2 separate regions of the Homo sapiens genome follow, and region 1 is linked to region 2. The links are contacts of gene promoters, found by promoter capture Hi-C in human tissues and cell types (Jung and others, 2019). All regions are on one chromosome and are shown on one strand. The core of a region is centred on a gene start or on the middle of the fragment in contact, and the rest is flanking DNA. Distances in the headings are between cores, read along the strand shown. Region 1 overlaps CRYL1 (crystallin lambda 1). Region 2 holds the start of GJA3 (gap junction protein alpha 3).

The links. The method cuts DNA at HindIII sites, captures the fragments that hold promoters and counts their contacts. A contact is called where the count stands out against the background at its distance.
Region 1: a fragment that was not itself captured here is called in contact with the fragment with the promoter of GJA3 in region 2 in 1 of the 25 tissues and cell types used here (IMR-90 fibroblasts).

The regions. Positions count from the first base shown.
Region 1 is chr13:20,415,931-20,423,641 of GRCh38, reverse strand. All of the region lies in intron 5 of CRYL1 (crystallin lambda 1), which reads left to right. Among named protein-coding and RNA genes, the nearest start is that of MIR4499, 14 kb to the left of the region's middle. RefSeq lists enhancers at 3,416-4,615, 7,201-7,711. The HindIII fragment of the contact is 3,613 bases long and covers 1,403-5,015 here.
Region 2 is chr13:20,157,145-20,164,914 of GRCh38, reverse strand. It overlaps GJA3 (gap junction protein alpha 3), which reads left to right and starts at 3,863. Exons shown (of 2, transcript NM_021954.4): 1 at 3,863-4,025. RefSeq lists silencers at 3,213-3,572, 3,803-3,882, 4,043-4,132. The HindIII fragment of the contact is 27,118 bases long and covers 1-7,770 here.

The sequences.
Region 1 (7,711 bases), core at 1,960-4,459, 260 kb before region 2:
AAATGATCCTATATTTAATAACATAATCAAGGGGAATTCATCACAGGGTGCAGAGATACTTTACCATAGGCAAATCTATAAATGTGATATGTCATGTTAACAGAATACAGGACAACCATATGATCATCTCAACAGATGCAGAAAAAGCACACGACAACATTCAGCATCATTTTATAATAAAACTCTCTTCAAATTAGATATAGAAGAAGTGTTCCTCAACACGATAAAGGTCATACGTGACACACCCACAGCAAATATACTCAATGGTGAAAAGTTGAAGGCTTTTCTTCTAAGATTAGGAACAAGACAAGGGTGCCTACTCTCACCACTTCTATCCAACGTAGTATGGAAGTCCTAGCCATAGCAATTAGGCAAGAGAAAGAAATAAAAGGTATTCAAATTGGAAATGAAGTTAAATTGTCACTGTTTGCTGGCAACATGATCTCATATATAGAAAACCCTAAAATTCTGTTGGAACTGATAAATAAATTCAGTAAAGTTGCAGGATACAAAGTCAACATACAAAGGTCGGTAGCATTTCTATACACTAACAAGGAACTACGTGAAAAAGAAATCAAGAAAACAATTCCATTTACAATAGCTGCCCCCAAAATGCTTAGAAATACATTTAATCAAGAAAGTGAAATATCTGTACACTGACAACTATAATTACACTGATGAAAAAACTGAAGAAGACACAAATAAATGGAAGGACATTCTGTGTTCATGGATTGGAATGATTAATATTGTTAAAATGTCCATACTGCCCAAGGTGATCTACAGATTCAGTGCAATCCCTATCAAACTTCCAGTGGCATTTTTCACAGAGTAGCGTGGCCCTTTGTTTGGAAAGACTGTAGATACCACTCGAGATGGGTTAGGATGCACATGACAAACTGTTGGAATGTGGGGCTCTTCCAAAAGGAGAGCAGGAGTGCAAGACTTTTCCAGAAAGGCTGGTGGCTTTGGCAGAGAAATGGCATCTAAGCATATTTGTAAAGCTTTCTCCTCCTCTATGTTAGAGTCAGAAGCTGCATGCCACCCGTGTGCAGAGCCAAGTCCAGCTCAGCTTTCCCACAGGTTTGCTTACACTTGCTGGGCGACCCCAGCCTGGCTGGAGGTGCAAGGGAGCACGTTTGTACCTTGTAATGATTTCTCTCTAGAGTAGTGCAGATGTTCGCAGGGATAATGTCAACTGCCACAGCAACTGGAATTCTATCTGCAAACTTTTATTTGCTGTGTTGGAATCATTAGTTAATTAGGACTTTTTTTTTTTTTTTTGGAAATGGAATTTCACTCTGTGGCCCAGGTTGGAGTGCAATGGCGTGATCTCGGCTCATGGCAATCTCCATCTCCCAGGTTCAAAGGCTTCTCCTGCCTCAGCCTCCCAAGTGGGTGGGACTACAGGCGCATGCCACCATGCCTGGCTAATTTTTTGTATTTTTAGTAGAGATGGGGTTTCTCCATGTTGGCCAAGCTGGTCTTGAACTCCTGACCTCAAATGATCGGCCTGCCTTGGCCTCCCAAAGTGCTAGGATTACAGGTGTGAGCCACCGCGCCTGGCCTTAATTAGGATTTTTTTTCTAGCAGCAATTTTCCATAAGAAGTAGACTATTTTTATACCATTATTTATTATTTTGTGGGTGGCCATTTTCTGAGTAGTCATATTGGTGAGCAACAAAACCCTATTGAAAAGAGAGATACTGCTGATTTATGAATTTAGAGATACCTGTATCCCCATTAATAAGCAAATAAATAACATCAACCACATACTCATTAAAAATCCCCAAAATGCTGCAAAGCTTCTATGTTAGTATTCTAACTCTAAAAATAAATAAATAAATAAATAAATAAATGAAAATGCTGTTACTATAACACCTTCTAGCAATCATTACCAATAGGTGCTTGAGCAGTGAATATAAATGATGGATTTCAGCTCCCTCAGTTTGAAGTTGGGAAGTTAACAGGCCAGGGGTAAGGGTCCCCAGAAGTAGAGGATGGGGGTAAGGAGCCCCCAAGAGAAAAGGCAAAGAGAAGAGAGGTGGGAGGTGACAAATGACACTGCATCCCTCTTCCCTTGTGGGAGCCAGCCTTTGTGCCTTCCATCAGCTGCAGGTAGAAGCCAGGTGAGAGGCCACTGGAGCCCTATGGGCCATCAAGGCAGGAAGCATCTCTGGGTAAAGATGTGGGGAGTAGGCAGATATGGGGCTTGTGCTCCATGGCTGTTTTTGGAGTCAGGGCTTACACTCTTTGGTTCAAAACTTATTGTAGTAAACTGTATTCCCAGAGGACCCCTCAATTAAAGTATCACTACCCTCATAGAATGGAAGTGAATGTATTCACATTCATACACAATGATGGATTCTTTTTGCTGTTGTATTTGTTGTAAAAGTCGAGGCTTTCCCTTTCTTTCAAACTCTATAATACTGTTGTTTTTCCCCCTAAAAGCATCATTATACACACAGTGTTCTAAGAAAAAGTGCACCAGGGAATTAGCACTGGGGCCTGAAGTACTCTGGAATGTCCCTTTTATTAGGGCAAAGTCTTTCCTCTCTTTCCTTTCCATTTTTTTTTTTGTTTGTTTGTTTCTATTTAAAAGCTCTATTTTAGGCTGGGCGCAGTGGCTCACGCCTGTAATCCCAGGATTTTGGGAGGCCAAGGCGGACGGATCATGAGGTCAGGAGATCGAGACCATCCTGGCTAACACAATGAAATCCTGTTTCTACTAAAAATACAAAAAATTAGCCAGGCGTGGTGGCGGGCCTGTAGTCCCAGCTATTTGGGAGGCTGAGGCAGGAGAATCGCTTGAACCCAGGAGGCGGAGGTCGCAGTGAGTTGCGATCACGCCACTGCACTCCAGCCTGGGCGACAGAGTGAGACTCTGTCTCAAAACACACACACACACACACACACACACACACACACACACACACACACACAACCTCTATTTTAAAGAAAAGTCAAAGGGAAAAACTCCACCTGTGTTTGCTCTACCCTAAGTCAATTGCTTTCATTTTCCTTTGTTCCTGTCTAGTCTCTATTATGAACATGCTACTCAAGTTTTTATTCATTCTTAATGGCTTTATGATATTTCATTTAGCTGGTCTTTTTTTTTTTTCTTTTAAATCCAATCTTTCCCTTACTGCGGGATGTTTTAAGGTCAGGCCTCAGTGAGCCTCTATGCACATATGGTTTCTTCTTCTGGAGTCTTTTCTGGAATAATTCTGGGAGTGGGCTCAGCCTGCGGGAGAGTAACATTTTTATAACTTGATAGATGTAGCTGAGATGCCTCCCAGAGGGGAGACCCGCCTCTCCTCCGGCAGCTGTGCACGTAGGCTTGTTCCCAGCAGCCTGGCCAGGGTGGTCCACCTGGTGTTTCTCATCTTCTTTCCCCGGAGCGCTGACTCCTGCGCGTCCTCTTGGAAGACTCTTGACAGGACGGGTGTTTTATGGGTGTGATTCAGTGTCCTCTTGCATCAGTTCAATGTGGTGGTGTTCAATCAACCCTTGTAGCGTTAGCAAAATTTGCTCAAGTCATTCCGCAGGAATGTCTGTGTCTTGCTTCCAAGAAAGCTTGTAAGTGCCGGCAACAGGCCAAGCAGCTCACAAACCTGACCACAAGCCTGTGAGTAATTGTGGGGCAGCACTTAGCAGTCTTTTATTTTCGACTTATTAAAGTCTCATCTTGGCCTCACCTTCTCCCTGGAAGGTGGCGTGGGTGGGAACCACTGGGTCAGATCTTTTTCACCCTTGCCGTGGAGCCAGTTTCCTGTTGCATGTGGGGGAAGCAACATGTGGTGAAGAGTATAGAAAACGAAAACATGTGGGTACAGTATGTATAAGTGGAGGGAACAAACTCATAATTCCAACTAGTTTCTCATGAGAGACTCATGAATCATTGTGGTAGTTCTCAATATAAACTTAATCTAGGCCGGATGTGGTGGCTCACACCTGTAATCTCAGCACTCTGGGTGGATCACTTGAGGTCAGGAGTTTGAGACCAGTCTGACCAACATGGAGAAACCCCATCGCTACTAAAAATACAAAATTATCCAGATGTGGTGGCTCACACCTGTAATCCCAGCACTTTGGGAGGCTGAGGCGGGTGGATCACTTGAGGTCAGGAGTTTGAGACCAGCCTGACCAACATGGAGAAACTGTGTCTCTACTAAAAATACAAAATTAGCTGGGCGTGGTGACGCATGCCTGTAATCCCAGCTATTTGGAGGCCGAAGCAGGAGAATCGCTTGAACCTGGGAGGCAGAGGTTGCAGTGAGCCGAGATCCTGCCATTGCACTCCAGCCTGGACAACAAGAGCAAAACTCCATTTCAAAATAATAATAATAATAATAAACTTAATCTCTAACTCTGTTACTCCCTGTAGCATTTGCAAGGACCCTAGGGCTGGATGTTTCTCAGAGGGATAGTCTAGTACCCTAGCTCATGCTCGAGTTACTTCTGTGCAAGTGACTGTTCTTGTCTGGGTCTGTCCTTGAACATCTCTGGAGATGAGAAAATCACCGAGATTTAACTTTGTTCCATCCTTTCTTTCACTAGAGATTGAGATGGACGTGCTGGTGTAATCCTTTCTTCTTGGCCGCTGCCCTGGGGTGATCCACACAAGCCCAGTGCTTTCTTCATGTCGCCCTCGTAGGGCTGAAGGTGGCAGAGTACTCTACTTCTCGCTGTTGCGTTTCTTTATTTGACACTCACCTAAGATAAAACCTTTTGTGACTCCTGACTCTTAATTTTTCTCCTGTTTCTCAGTTGACAGTGGACTTATGCCCAAACTCTAGCTGAGGAGTGGAAGAACTTGAATAGAACCTCATCCAAATTCCTGGGTAGCAAGTCTGTGTTCCTGCTGGTGATAGTAGTAGTAAAGTTATTGTAGTGTTTGCACAAGAAAAATGTGAAAATTCAGGACCAAGTTTGGGGGAAAAGTAGAGCAAAACAAAATAGAAGATCAAAAGCTGGGAATTAGTAAAAAAGAAGTGGATGAGGAAGAATGGTATGAAGAAAAATGAGAAAAGCAAATGAAAATGAGGCCATGCAAAAAATACATGAATCAGAAAATTAAATCTAGGAATGGGATGATTATAGAGAAGGAAAGATGGTTCGGTGTAGCTGGTGATCAGTAGAGGAGATAGTCACGGAGGAGGATTTATCCATCAAATATCGTGTGCCTCCACCACACAAGTTTCTCTCCTGCCTTCCTCTTCTTCTGGGACTGTCCGAAGGACCAGAGTAAGTACCACAGCATCTGTTAACCCTTTGCTATTGTTAATTGTTAGATGTGTCTTGCTTCCTCTTCTCCCCATCCCCACCCCACAAACAAACAGAAGTGCTTGATCCAAGATCCCTGAGGGTATCTGTCCCCTGAGAGGGTCAGCTCGGCCAGGCTAGAGCGTCCAGTCACTCAGTCAAACTCAGTCTAGATGTTGCTGGGAAGGTATTTGGTACATAGTTGACTTTAAGTAAATGAGATTATTCTCCATAGTCTGGGTGGGCTAAATCCAGTCCATTGAAAGGCCTTGCAAGCAGAACTGAGATCTCCCTGAGGAAGGAGAAATTCCACCTGCAGACTGTGGGGTAGTTCCTGCCTGGAGTTGCCGGCCTGCCCTCCTGATGGCCTGTCCATGGCTTTCTGACTTGCCAGGCCCACAGTCACATGAGCCAATTCCTTGAAATAAATCTCTTGATGTATGTGTGTATGTGTGTGAATCTTACTGGCTTTGTCTGGTAGAACCCTGAGTGATACATCCCTAAACCTTTCATTCGACTTAACATTTGTTTCATAGCAGTTGGGTACGTTATTAACTATCTTGCATTTTCTCCTACTTCACGGATGTCTTGTGGCTCCTCTCAGCCTGGGCATTTTCTCCTACCAAATCAGGTGCAAAATATGTGCCCCAGCTATGCATGTGTTACTCCACTGTGGAAAAATCTCAGGTTTTAACTAAGGAAGCAGAAGCAAGGAGTTTTTCAATAAAAGGGGTTCCTTAACACTGTCTGGGATCTCTTTGCCCAATGATTTTCAGGACGCGAAACCATGTTTTGAACTAACAGTGATTGTAGTATTCATTGCTTTGTATGATTTTTAAATAATCTTTTCTTTGTATGTGTGACTTGAGAATTTTACCTTAAAATGGAGTAAGTACTGATTGCTAAACTGATCAATGTTAACAGAACCACAGAAGGGCTGGACTCAGGTAGGGTTCCCATCTCCGCACAGCTGTGTTGCCCGTCACCTATTATAAGGAATCGCTTGTCAGTTCCCTGTTTCAACACAAGCACTTGTTTCTGCCTGTCATGCTGCTGCGATTATTTATCAATGACAAATGATTATTTGTCATTGTTATGATAATATTAGGCCACAGATGTCACAAGGCTTTGGGTGGAATTAAGCTCAGTGGCAAAATTAAGCAACCTGAGCTTCAAAACATCCTAAATGGAAAAGCTTTAGTTCAGCACCAAGTGCAGCAGGGAGAAACTCAAACGTTTGCCTTGGGGACATGATATCCTAGTTGTGGAGCTTCTCAACTGAATGCCTTGTGGTCCTTTTCTTTCTCTATATTTAGCTTCTTGGTAAAAACTCAAGCTTTGAGAAATCCATTTCAGAAATTCAAATGGGCAGAAAGAAGCAGTGAGGAAGGGAAAGTATCAAAACGTTTTTCCCTTTCTAACTTGTTCTACTGGTGAATAGTGACTGATGGAAGACCCACAGCCCTCCTCTAGATGAAATCAGGCAGAACTGAGAACATGGGAGTTGGAGGGAATGTGGTTCCTCCCAGGTCATGGGGCAGCATGGAGAACCCTTCTCAGGCGTTAGTTAGGGGCTGTTAGCTCAGATGATACAAACCAAAAAGGACCTACTCTTGAGTGGCTCACCTTTTTTCTATTTTGCAATCCTAAAAATGATTTTTTAAAAATCAGCTCTAAAAATACTAAATACGATTCTAAAAGAGCCAAGCCAAATAACACTGCAAGTATAGGGTGGCTTCCATGTTTGCATACTTCCCAGTTTGAATACTAAAATGAAAACTTGGGGCTGTTTGGAATGTTGGCCTGGAAAGCAAGGGTGAGGGAGCGACTGCAGGCCGCCTGGCTGCCTTTCACAGCATTCCAGAGCCCACGGGGGTGCGAGGGGCCACAGCCCAGGCCTTCCAGCAGCCTGGAGAGAGGGCAGGGAGCCACCCTTCCTGCCTCCAGACCTCCTGCCAGGGAGAGGAGGCGACAATGCCTGTGTTCCACACGGGATTCTTGACGGTTCCGGGAGTTTCTGTGGGCCTTAGGTAGATATCCCCCAGCCCCCGTGATGCCCCGACCCGTTACAGCTTCGCTATTGGGAGTGAAAGGAGGCGACCCTCCTCAGCATTGCAGTGACTTGCACAGACTGATTCACTCTCCTTAGCAGTCAGTGAACATGTGGTAGGGTGATTTAGAACTCGAAGGAAACCTGGTGAGATACCATTTCACCCTACCAGATTAGCGAAACTTTGCAAGGGTGAGGACACCAAGCGTGGCGAGGCTGAGGCGCGACGGGACCTCTTCTACACAATTCTGGAGGCCGGGGCGCCGCAGTGACGGGGAGAAGGATGCTCTGGGCCCCAGCCGCGGCCCGGGCCCTGTGCGCGTGACCCTGGCTGCCCTGCTCACAGGAGCCCCAGACTAGCCAAAGGCTCATGGCCGCAGGGTGGATGACTAAACTCAT
Region 2 (7,770 bases), core at 2,614-5,113:
CTGGATGGGGGGTTGGGGTAGGGGAGCATCTCACTGTATTGCCCAGGCTAGTCTCGAACTCCTGGGCTCAAGCAATCCTCCTGCCTTGGCCTCTAAAAGTGCTGGAATTACAGGCATGATCCACCACACCCGCTAACTGTTTGTTAATTAATACTTTGTGATTCAGAAACAACAGATTGTAAAATCCTCCTGTGGACAAAAATTGGCACAGAGCTGGGCGCAATGAATTCTCTGAGTAGAGAAAGTGGAACCTTCCCATCCGTCAACACCCAGCCCAAGGCCTTGTATGAGGAGAAGTTCAATAAATAAAAGTTGGATTGCTGGAATTCGTTTTTTTTTTTTTTTTTTTTTTTTTTTTTGAGATGGAGTTTTGCTCTTGTTGCCCAGGCTGGAGCGCAGTGGCACGATCTCAGCTCACTGCAACCTCCACCTCCCAGGTTCAAGCAATTCTCCTGCCTCTGCCTCCCGAGTAGCTGGGATTACAGGTGCGCACCACCCCACCATGCCCGGCTAATTTTTTGTATTTTTAGTAGAAACAGAGTTTCATCATGTTGGCCAAGCTGGTCTCAAACTCCCGACCTCGGGTGATCCACCCGCCTCGGCCTCCTAAAGTGCTGGGATTACAGGCATGAGCTACCACACCCAGCTGGATTCATTTTTTTAAGTGCTATTAGAGCTATTTATAGCCCGCAGAGTAACTGAAATACTATACATTGTCAATCAGCATAGTAAGTAAGGAATAGTGACGGTCTATACAAGTAATTTTGTTTTTGTTTTTTTGTTTTTGTTTTGAGATGGAGTCTTGCTCTGTCACCCAGGCTGGAGTACAGTGGTGCAGTCTCAGCTCACTGCAACCTCCGCTTCCCCGGTTCAAGTGATTCTCCTGCCTCAGCCTCCTGAGTAGTTGGGATTACAGGCAGGTGCCGCCACACACGGCTAATTTTTGTATTTTTAGTAGCAACGGGGTTTCACCACGTTGGCCAGGCTGGTATCAAGCTCCCGACCTCATGTGATCCGCCCGCCTCGGCCTCCCAAAGTGCTGGGATTACAGGCGTGAGCCACCACCGTGCCTGGCTTATACAAGTAATTGTAAACGAAAAGGAAAAAATGGAGATACAGTTTTCTCGTGCATCTTAAACTTTGGTGCTTAAAAGCACCATTAAATTCTGCTTTCACATGAACACACACAAGATTACCACGTTTGCTCTGGGCTGCTGCGTATTGGAAGGACATACACATTCAACAAATATTTGTTGAACTTCCATTCTGTACACAAAGCACAAAGAAAGATTCGTTCACAGTCCGTGTGGGTACTGGAAAGCAGTTCCAGCCCTGCCTGCCAGGGGGCACCCCAGGCAAGCACATCTCAGTGGCTGCTAGAAAGTGAATTGAGGCTGAGTCTCTCCACACCCAAGTGTTAGGCGTTCTAGGCTCAGAAAGAGACAATGACAATGCGGGCAATTCTCTCTTCACTGTGTCCTCTTCTTTGCTAGAAATGTTATTAGAATATGGAAATGTGACATTCAGCACTAATCAGTTTGACATATGAATATATCTATACACATATTTCTCCCTGAAATTGGCCTAAATACTCTTTCTTGGAACCAAATGAGAAGCAAACAACCTTTACAACTAAACATTAAACCATAAGATGAACATCTTAGTTGTCTACCTAGAAATTGTACAGTATGACAAGTGTAAAGAAACTGCTAGCTTCTTAGTTGTGCTGGTCTTTACACAATACCACTTTAAAAATTGTTTTATGGTAGTAAAATATACATAACCTTTAATTTACCATTTAACCTTTCTTAATGTGTACAGTTCTGTGGCATTAAGTACATTCACATTGTTATGCAACCATTACCATCATCTGCTTCCAAAACTATTTCTATCTTCCCAAACTAAAACTCCGTACCTATGAAACTCTATCTTCCCGTTTCCCACTGCCCCAGCTGCTGGTAACCACACTTCTACTTTCCGTCTCTATGATTTTGACTGCTGTAGGTACCTCATGTAAATGGAATCATACAGTATTTGTGACTTTTGTGACTGGCTTATTTCATTTAGCATAATGTACTCAAGGTTCGTCCACGTTGTAGCATGTGATGGGGCTCTCCCTTTTTAAGGCTGAATAATATTCCACTGTAGGTATGCAATACATTTTGTTTATCCATTCATCCATTGATGGACACCTTTTGGCTATAGTAAATAATGCTTGTATGAACATATATGTAAAATATTTGTTCGAATTACATAATATAATTTAAAATCTATATTTTAATAAAAATTTTAAAATTATTACAATATTATATTTCCATTTTTATCCTCAGAATACCAATAATAGCATTTGGCAAACAGACTACAAATATTAACAATTCCTAGTGCTTTTGTGATCAACAAAAAAAAAAAAACTATTCCTGTGCTTCTCAGAGAAAATGTTTTAAATGAGAAAAATATTCAAGTATTTTAAGACCTTCAAAGGTAGCATTTTTCAATTAAAAATTAAAAACTAAGTCTCCGTAACTACTACCTACTCCATACATACACCGCAAAGTTCCCAAAGGGAGAAGATATTTTAGATGCGCCTTTAGGAGCTTAGTTTTTCCTCCTTGGGATAACTTTAAATTCAGATCTCAGCAGAACAAACGCATTTTTCAGGGCAAGCCAACTGCTAATCCGAGTAGATCTAAACGCTAACGAAGGCAGCCGACGGAAGCTGCTCCATGAAGACACGAAAACTATCAGACTTGCATTTTGCCACATTCCTGGAATAAACTTATTACTCATAAAGGTGATTTTGAAGCCATTTCAGCTTGTGGAATGATCACCGAAATGCAGTCCACCGATATTTGTTAATATCCCAGGCTGGTCAAACCCCACTCCAGACCTTGGGGGACGGGGAGGGGACCCGCGGCCTCTCTAGGCTGTGCCCAGACAGCAGACAAGGACGCGATGCCGCCCTCGGTCCGCGGCCTTCCGCGGTAGGCGTCCCTCTCAAGCGTGGTAAAACCACCCCGAAGGGAACAGAAAACGTTAAAATCTTCGTTGGGCGCCAGCAGGCAGGTTAGGCCTCGCCCTGGCATCTCGTCTCCAGGACCAGATGGAGCGAGTGACCCGCGGGGACACCTTCCCGGTCACCTCGAGCGCAATAAAACAAGTTCTTTTTTTAAAAATAAGCATCCGTGTGCCTGCCGGCTAAATTAAGTGTGTCTGAAGAGAAGCAGGATGGCGGCCGCTATTTATAACCTCCCGCCCCGCCCGGGCGCCACTCCTCGACAGCACCCACGCTGTGCCCGGCGGCGCTTCCGCGGGGACTTCCTGCTCGGTGGTCCCCGCCCCGCCCCGCGCCAGCCGTCCGGAACCCGCGTCCCCAGGCGGCTGCAGGCGGGCGAGACCTAGGTGCCCGACGCCCACGCGCCTCCGACCGTGGGAGCGCCCGGAGAGCAGCTACCTCGCCGGGCCTGCGAAGCCCAGGACAGGCGCGAGCGGGGCGCGGGCTGGCGCATCTGCGTGCGGTGGGCGCCCCGCAAGCGGGTCGGGCCCGCCCCAACAGCCCTCGGCTCTCCTCTCACGTCCCGCGCGGGCATGCCCCGGAGTGCGTAGGCGGCAGGGAAGAGCCCCCGCGTCCACATCCCCAGGGCCCGCGCAGGTGCGGGATGGGGATGCAGGCGCTAGGCATGGACGTGCGCGCGGGGTAGGGTGTGGAATGCGGACGCGGGCGAGTGCTGTGGCTGCGCGTACAGGGTAGGGATGCGGGGGCGGTAGGTGTGCGTGCTGGGAAGCGCGCGGGGCGGGGCTGTTCGGAGGCGGCGGGGGCGTGGCGCGGCGTCCTGAGCTGCAGCTTGGGGGCGTCGGGCGCAGCGCACACTGGGGCTGCAGGGATGGCGATCAGGGCGGGGAGGTCGGGCCCTGGCGCGGGGCGCACGCGTGAAGCAGCACCGCACGTGTGAAAGGAATTCTTTTCAGAGCGGCCGGGAGCCCTGCTCCGGAGGAACGCACCCGGGTCGCCGCCGCGGCAGAGCGGGGTAAGGCGGGCCGGGCGCCCCGGAGGCCAGGCACAGGGGCCGAGGGCAGCGCGGGGCGGGGACGGGCGGGTCGGCGGCGCAGCGGAGCTGCCGGGCGAGCCCAGCGGGCTGAGACTGCCGAGCTGGGAAGCCGAGCCCCGGCACGTGTGCGGCTCCCAGCCCCCTAGGATTCTTTCAGGATTCTTCAAAAAGTTGTGGGGAGCTCGGGAAATTTGTGAGAAACTTTTGGAATAATTGATCTTCCTCCTTTGCTCCTGGAGGTCTGGAGAGCAGCGCCTCGTTTGGCTTCCCTTGATGGACAGTCCAAGGCCGAGTTTAAGTTGTTTTCCTGGGGTTGTTTTCCCCCTCGGGTGGAGGAAGCCGGGCTGTCCCGGACCGTCAGGCTGTAGGGCTCCTAGCGATGCTGAAATGCTTGAAAACTCTAAGCAGATGTCACCGCGCCAGCTAACGGCGCGCACCCAGCCGTCCACGGGCATTCAGCATCGCCGTGCTCCTAAAAGTCCTGTTGGGATTGTTTAGAAACAAGGTTGGCTCGCCTACATTTTTTTCAGAAACTTTTTAAAACTTTTTATTTTTAAGAAACACTGTAGCTATTAATGCCACGACCAGATTTCTCGACCTGTATGTTTGTTATGATGTGTTCAACTATAAGGAATTTGCAGAGGAGTGGAAAAGCACTGTCCGAGCCCCTTCCCGTAGGAGACTTGAGAAAACAAACGGCAGTGACGCGGCTGCATTTGCTTTGTTGCCGACTCCACACTAGTGAGCAAAATTCATCCTACCATGTAGAGTTCTCGGTTCGTGAATATGTGACTGCAACTTTAGAACTCCAGTTTTTATTTTATCAAGATGTCTCCAAAACATGCCATTTAAAAATGATTCTATACAAACAGCTGACAAGCGAATTATGGGTCTCATCACCCAGGAATTAAAAACCATGGTGATTTATGATGTGCGCATCACTTCACTGGCGGTCCATCCATGTGCAAGACAAACATTAAAAGATTAAAGAGGAAAAAAGAGGGATTTATTTTCCGAATATCAGTGTGTTCAAAGTAAACATCAGCTAGTTTGGCACAGATTCCACCTGCTCAGCAGTTTGGTTCATATCGAGATAAGCATCTCATAAGGGCAATGCATGTGTTGCTGTAGTGGAAAGTAATTCACGAAACGGTACTACTCTAACAAATCAGACAGTACTGTTTCTTAACCAGGAACCGTTAACTGGCTGAAAGCTGTCTTAAAAGAATGGCGGGTAACAAAATTTTTTGCCAATAAGGAAAATATTTTTGACCCAGTTTTCTTGAATGTTACTCACATTTTAACTTATTATATTCATTTCTCTTAGCTAAAATAACGTGTACACACTACATTTGAAACGAAAAATTACGTTTATCGCAGCCTTTTTTTTTTTTTTTTTTTTTTTTTTTTTTGAGATGGAGTCTCGCTCTGTCACCCAGGCTGGAGTGCAGTGGTGCGATCTCGGCTCACTGCAACCTCCCGAGTAGCTGGGACTACAGGCGTCTACCACCATGCCTTCTTCCTCCCTCCGCTGGATGGTAGCTATTCCCAGTACTATGTAGTACTTACATTTTGATCTGTTTTTTGCCACTCTGCCTCTCTCATAGATTGCAAATGAATCTCCTGAGAGTGAGGACTGGATCTTAATTGTTTTGCTGTCCTCAGTGTGTGGCACAGTGCCACACACAATAGGTAATAATGTTTTATAATAATAATAAATGTTTACTGAATTGAGGAGGGAAAAAATCCAATATATGTGACAACAGCATATATGTCTCTAAAAAACAGTATGTTTCTGCAATTTCTGTATAATGCTTAAAGGCAATAAAAATAATAAAGTTTCATCTTAATTTTCATTCCTACAGTGGTGGAAAATTCCTCATGATAACTAGGTTAGTACTCTACTGCTTGCTTTTTTTCTTTTTCTTTTTCTTTTTTTTTTTTTTTTTTTTTTTTGAGAGTTTTGCTCTTGTCCAGGCTGGAGTGCAATGGCACAGTGGCACAGTCTTGGCTCATTGCGACTTCTGCCTCCCAGTTAAAGCGATTCTCCTGCCTCAGCCTCCCTTGTAGCTGGGATTACAGGCATGCGCCACCACGCCTGGCTAATTTTTGTATTTTTAGTAGAGACACAGTTTCACCATGTTGGACAGGCTGGTCTCAAACTCCTGACCTCAGGTGATCCACCCACCTCAGCCTCCCAAAGTGCTGGAATTACAGGCGTGAGCCACCGCGCCCAGCCTACTGCTTGCTTTTTTAAAACTCCTGTACATCTCCAAAAGTAATGGTTGATGTGAATAGTTTCCACACTCTTATGTGTCTTATTTAATTTGAAGAATTGGTTTGCTTTAAATTTACTGTTAACAAACTAATGATACTAGATATAAAAATTAATTAGCTTTTTACATTTAGACCTCCTGATTATCTCCATGGATTATTGCTTATTTATTCCTGAAACTCCATTTCCTGTTGATTTTAAAATAAATCTTTTATTCTAGAACATAGAAGCAATTTCTGGTTACACAGCAATAGAAGTAGATTTGAGTAAGAAAAGTGAAATCATACTAATACTATAGAAATTATTTCTGCAAAAAAATAGAAAATATTTTGACAGATGTAATTTTTATCAGTAATATCAGTGGAATAATAAAATACCATAATTATCAGGTTGTGGGATTTTGTTCACTAAGCAAGAGTAAAAATATCTGAATTTACTTTAAAAAGATAATTCTGACTGGGTGTGGTGGCTCATGCATGTAATCCCAGCACTTTTTGGGAGGCTGAGGCAGGAGGATCTCTTGAGCCCAGGAGTTTGAGACCAGCCCAGGCAATATAGTGAGATACAGTCACTTCAAAATATTTTTTATAAAATTAGCCCAGTGTGGTGGTACAAACCTATAGTCCCAGCTACTCAGGAGGCTGAGGCAGGAGGATCATTTGAGCCCAAGAGATTGAGGCTGCAGTAAGCCATAAGTGTGACAGAAAAAAAAAAAAAGATAATTCAAATTTGTGATGAAGTAATTGGGCTGTCCTTAGCATATCAGTAATATTTAACCATTTTTATAAAAGATAAAAATACCCCCCTTGAGACAGTCTGGACTGGAAAAAAAAAGTGAAAGCTTAACATGTACTCCAGCCCACATTTCTAAACATATGTATTCCAGTATGTTAGAATATAATAAAATGCAAAAGGCATGTAATACATAGTGTCATAAGCTGAACAGTCTGCCTGCTGCATCGCCCATGAAGTGGTGTGGGAGGGGAAGGGAAGTTGGGCCAGGAGTTGGAGGTTGGGCACTTCTGTGCTGGTGTCAGCACTGTGGGCTGTGCAACTTTAGGCAAGTCTCAGGACCCTCTCTGAGCTGCCATTTCCCAGTTTGTAAAATAAGGAGCATAAACTAGACCACTTCTAAGGTTCATCCCTTGCCAAAATGCTAAGATTCCATATTTCTTCTGTCGATAATGAGTAAGGTTCCTGAAGGATGTCATTTGGATTTATATGAGGAAATTGCCTTTTAACTGACTGCACTGTGTTTATGAGGTCAGTGTTTGGTCATCTGTTCAGACATCATGACTTGTGTTTTAGACATGACAAAAGCCTGTTCTGATCGCTGCTATGCTGAAGCACCCCTGTAATTTTCTCTATTACTTACCCTTGCCCCAAGCCACCCCTCAGAAAGTGGGGTACTGCTAAGTTCAATTTTACCTTAAGGAAGTCACTTTTTTT